2 separate regions of the Homo sapiens genome follow, and region 2 is linked to region 1. The links are contacts of gene promoters, found by promoter capture Hi-C in blood cells and fetal thymus (Javierre and others, 2016). All regions are on one chromosome and are shown on one strand. Each heading gives the region's core, a stretch centred on a gene start or on the middle of the fragment in contact. The rest is flanking DNA. Distances are from core to core; before and after follow the strand shown. Region 1 holds the start of TBATA (thymus, brain and testes associated). Region 2 overlaps PALD1 (phosphatase domain containing paladin 1).

Region 1 (2,700 bases), core at 75-2,574:
CCCACCCCTTAGCTGGGAGGGGCAGAACTTTTGAAGGACTTGGGTTTGCCTCTAGCTACCCACCTTCCTTTTCTTGCTCCCCAGAGAAAAGACACAGAGTCTGGAAGCCCCAGGGCACCAGTATGAAGCCAGGGGTGCTGAGAGCAAAGGCCCTGGGAAAAGCCCACCTCATCATTCTGAGGGACAGCACCCGGCACTGTCTGCAAGCCTTCCCATAGTTTACAGAGCCTGTCTGCACCCCTCCCGGGATCTGATTGAGTTACAGCCCTGTCGGCTAAGAACTATCCTTACCCCCATTTGACAGGTGTCCAAGTTGAGCCTCAGAGAAATAGTGAACTACCTAAGATAGTTCTCAGACAAAGGACTCATCCTACTACCTCCATCAAGTTACCAATAATAATGATGATTATTATCCTTTTTGAGCATCTCTTGTGTGCCAGACATACAACTAAAGGCTTCACTTCCATTAGCTTGTCTTCAGAACAACCACAGAAGTAGGTGAGGATATCCCATTTTATAGACCCAGAGAAGGCAATAATAGTAAGAAATTATACTTGGGGGCAGATACTGTTTGAAACGCTTTAATATATATCAACTCACTTAATATTCTCAAACATCCTGTGAGAATAAGTGCAGTATCATCATCTCCATTTTAGAGATATGGGAACTAAGGCTCAGAGAAGGCAGGTGCATTGTCTGAGGCCACACAACTAGGAAGTAGCAGAATAGGGACTCGAAGCAAGGATTCTTCCCACTATTTTGCATCTGTGGCAGTCCCGGTGACTTACCCAAGGTAACGTGTCTATGGGATGTTGAAATCTGATTAAAACACCTGTCCAAATGCAAGCCCAGAATCTTCCCACCCAGCTGTCATGCAGAGAGAGGGGCTGGGGTCCCTCTGGGTAATGCGGGCTGCCATCTTCTCTCCTTCCAAGACCCACCTCCCTGAGAATGGGTCCCCAGAACCAAGATGCATGGAAGCCGACCCCTGTGTGGTGGGGTCAGGCCAGGTGGGGCTGACGAAGCTGGGACGCAGCCCACCAACGTCCTCTGCCAGCGTTCCGCCTCCATCCGCTTCTCTCTGGCTAAAACCAGCCCCAGACTCTCCTTCTCTCCCTTGGCCCCCATTGAAAGTGTTGGATGGGAGGCAGCAGGGAAGTCAGGAGGGACAGAAGGTCCTTAGCCCTTGTCTACCCTTCCAGGAGGGGGAGATAGGCAGGGGATGTGGTAGAGGGGTGCTGGGCAGAGGTTCTGGAGTTGTGGGAACAGGGTAACCTAGCAACCACTGGGCTCAGTGTCACAAAGCAGGCAGACTTGCCCACAGAACCCACAGCCTTCCCCTCGATTTGTCCTCTTGCTCCTTCCTGCTAGGACAGCAGGGCTTCTCGTACACATGCTGTAGCGGGCACTGCCTTGGTGAGTCCAGGGACCTCTCGGGAGAGGAGATGGACCCTGGACAGCCCAGAAGGGCAGAGGTAGAAAGGGAAGTTTTGTGGCTGGATTGATGGGAGCCCTCAGACCCCTCTGCCTGGCTGGCTGGGGCCCCAGGGACAGAGAGCAGGGGCAGGGCAGGGCAGACTACACTGGGGTCCCACCTGTCCCGCTCTGGACAAGGCAGGCTTGGCCTACTAGAGTCCCTGTCAGCCTCTCTACAGCCGCTGTGGGTTATGACCCCCTGGTGGCTTATTAGATCAATTTAAATGGATCATATCTAACATTTAAGAAATAAAAACCAAAAATAGGGTAAAAATATCAGTGTGCATCATATGTAGTACGGATAAATATTGCTTCAGGATATTATTGTTTTAGTTTCACACACACACACAAACCCATATGTGAATTGGATCATGACATAAAGAATTTCTTACCGTCATCACAGCCAAACACATTTGCAAGTCTCTGTTCTAAAGAGTACTTTTTCCCATAGGCAGGAGGATTTGGGGCTTCCACATATCCTGTTCTCAAGATTGTAGCATCTCAGTACTCTAGAGCCCAGTACCTGACATCAAGGATGTCTGGAGCTTCCTTTTAAGGAAAGAAAAGATCAGCAAACTGTGAGTCAGACTGCCCGGGCTCTGGTTCCTTCTGTGTGACCTCAGCAAATCTCCCCTGCTTCCCTGATCTCAGACAACTCCAACCCATCCCACTACCTGATGAAGGCTGGCATTGGGAGATCTCTGGGGTCCCTTGCAGATTCTGTGACTCTGAGGGTTAATTCTCAGAATGCACTGATGTCCTGTCCCAACCCCATCCCTAGCACTTTGGCTAGATATATATATTCAGGTCCATAGATTTAATCATAATTCTTGGTTTTGACACCTATCATCTTTCATCTATGCCATTTAATTAGTTTATTTAATAATATAATAAACACAAGCAAATACACCACCCAAACCAAGAACAAGAACATCATCACTAACACATCTCCTTATATGCGCTTCTCCTGCACACTTCCCCTCCCCGCCTTCCCTCGGAAATAGCCACTATGTGAATTTCGTGCTTAGCATTTCCTTGTTTGATGCTGTTGTTGCTGTTTTATCGCATGTTCATGATCATTTTGCTTGCTTTTAAACTTTTATTTTTAGAAAGGATCTCAGGCTATGTGGTCCTCTGGAACTTGTGGTCCTCTGGAACACACATAAACTAAACCATTTATGAAAGAAAAATAATATGTTTTTAAACAACATTTATACTGTTTAG
Region 2 (2,700 bases), core at 30-2,529, 240 kb after region 1:
TCTGCCAGGGCCTCAGAGCCAAGCTGTCCCATGCCTTGCTGGGCTCATCTATAAAATGGGAACAGGGAAGCACTGATATGATGAGGTGGCAGACGTGACTGCATTGGGACGTGCTTTGAGGACCCCTAGACCGGCAAGCAGGAGTCCTCCTCCTCCTCCCATCCCAAGGTGCCTCAGGGACCCCGCAGGGCATGCTCACCTGAAATTCACCCTTAGTGAACTTGGCATCAGGCACACTCACGAGCTCCTCCTCACCCACCTCGGGGAAGCCCTGAGGGAAGACAGCTGCTGAGACAGAAGCCCCCTCCCAACGCCAGGAGCCCCTTGCTGGGGAGGACTTGGGGGCTGCCCAAGACTGATGGAAGGGGCTCTGGGACCACACCCGGCTGTCTCTGCCCCTCACACCCTCCTGTGGAGCCAGTGTGCCTGGGACCTGAGTGTCTACCCTCCTCCAGGCAAATCTCTAATCTCACTTGAGAGGCCACACGTACTTGGATGTGCCAGAAGGCCAGGACAGCCACCACCATCGCAGTTGTGGTACGGCCCTGGCCGCTGAGGCAGCTGAACACGAAGCCAGTGCCTGGGTCCTTGGAGAGGGCGGCCCGCAGGGCCTCCAGCAGCTGGTCAAAGTCCTGGACGAGAAAAGCAAGGTCTGGGTCAGCGGGCGTCTCTTGGATGCACAAACCCCAACAGGGTCCCCATCCACATGGCAGCCCCAGCCACTGTCCTCGGGCCAGAAATTGTCAGGCTCCCAAGCTTGCACACACAAACAAAACTCACCGGGGTGCATGAGACCATGTGCGTGTAAACAGCTGCACCTGTGCAGTCGTAATCACCCTCACACCAAGCACCTGGACAGGATGTGTGAGCCAACACAGCATGCACCTGGGGCTCAAGGTACCCACCCTCCATCAGGCAGGACATGCACCTGTATGTCACCCCTGTGTACTGCGCCCCTGGGCTGCACATAGACTGCTGGCCCTGCCACCCACCTGAGCTGGACCCAGCCCTGGTCCCACCATGGACGGGGGCCTGACCTCAGAAGAGCCCTGCAGCACAAGGCCACCAGGAGGCAGCAGACCGCAGGCAGTGAGAGCCGCGAAGAGATGCGCCAGGAGGGGCTCAGGCAGGGTAACAGACCCCATTGCCAGTTACACAGCACACAGCGACCCACCTACAACACACGCACCACGCACACGGTGGCTCACCTACAACACACGCCAGACACACGCACCACACAGGGATCCACGTCCGGTAAACACACACACTATACAGACACCCACAGTCACAGACCTACAGATGCCACACACACACATTCCTAACGACCCCTCCACAAACCCTACCACACACCACACCACTCCCCTAAAGATGGTTTTCCACACACAGCCCCCAATACAGACAAGGGAGACATCACAAACTCCATAAAAAGACATGCACACACACACACATTCCACACACCACCCACACACTCCATACACAGTCCCCCAACTGAGACACACACACCACGGACACCCTGGACATGTTCACCCTCAACACACACACACACCTTATAACAAATACACACACACACCTGTAACAGAATACACACACACCCCGATAACACACACACACCTATAACACACACCCATAACACAATACACACACATACACCCTACAACATAATAAACACATGTACACACATCTTATAACACATATGCACATACGTAACAGAATACACACTCCAATACACACACACCTATAACAATACACACACATATACCCTATAACACATAATAAACACACGTACACACACACAAAGCTTGGAAGGAATGTGAATAAACCACTTGGGCCAAATCGGAAAACCTCGTGAGACCATTCCCGGGCCCCGTAGAGAAGCTGGGGTCGTTTCATTCTCCCAGAGCCCAGACCAGAGGGGAGACAGGGAGGCCTCCTGTCCCTCCCCAGAGGCCTCAGCCTGAGCAGCACCCTCACCTCCTCTCGGGGGGCACAGAAGTCCGGCATGGGGATGCGGTGGTAGGTGAGGCCAGGACAGGCCCTGCGGTGCTGGCTGAAGACCTCCTGCATGGTAAGGCAGGTCTGGAACCTGTAGGTCAGGGGGCCCTCCTTGCCTGGGGGAGGCTCGCTTAGATGGGCCTTCAGCTGGGCCTCCAGGGTCTGGGCAAGGGCAGGAGGGAGGACACAGGCCACTGGGGCAGGCTCTAGGCTAGCCCTGAAAGGCCACAGCCTGCCATGGCCAGGCCTGGCCCTGGCTTCCAGTCCCATCCCTGACCCCCCCAAGCCTCAGGGGTCACAGCCACCCCCCAAAGCCAAGCAGGTTAGCAGAGCACTTTAGTGGGAATCCTGAGTTGGCCACTCCCTGACACTGCTCCTCCCGGGGCCTCAGATTCTCCATCTGTCTGCGGGAGTGTGAGGCCTTCTGAAGACCCTCCCAGGCCACTCCCCAGAAGCCTCGGAGGCAGGGGTGCCTAGAGGGCAGGGGGCCTCACCTCCAGCTGGTCAGGAGCCACAGGGGGCCCAGGCCACCGCAGGCTGTAGGTGTGCCCGTCACACTCCAACACGGCCTCCTCCCGAAGGCTCACCCAGACAACCTTCCGCAGCCTCCTCTTGGCGTCCGTCAGGTAGGCCAGGATGCTCCCCAGGGCCTGGGCACAGGAGGGCCGGCAGTGAGTGCTCAGCCCTCCCTCCCCAAACCCACTGGGG

What was found. Contacts are between HindIII fragments. The CHiCAGO score rates a contact against its expected background, and 5 or more counts as called.
Region 2: a contact is called between a fragment that was not itself captured here and the fragment with the promoter of TBATA in region 1, in 1 of 17 cell types (total CD8 T cells). The highest score is 5.5, in total CD8 T cells.

Annotation. Positions count from the first base shown.
Region 1 is chr10:70,784,001-70,786,700 of GRCh38, reverse strand. It overlaps TBATA (thymus, brain and testes associated), which reads left to right and starts at 1,324. Exons shown (of 11, transcript NM_001318241.2): 1 at 1,324-1,416; 2 at 1,928-2,054. The HindIII fragment of the contact is 8,030 bases long and covers 1-2,700 here.
Region 2 is chr10:70,539,034-70,541,733 of GRCh38, reverse strand. It overlaps PALD1 (phosphatase domain containing paladin 1), which reads right to left. Exons shown (of 20, transcript NM_014431.3): 14 at 2,487-2,642; 15 at 1,972-2,154; 16 at 492-632; 17 at 200-271. Among named protein-coding and RNA genes, the nearest start is that of PALD1, 62 kb to the right of the region's middle. The HindIII fragment of the contact is 1,042 bases long and covers 759-1,800 here.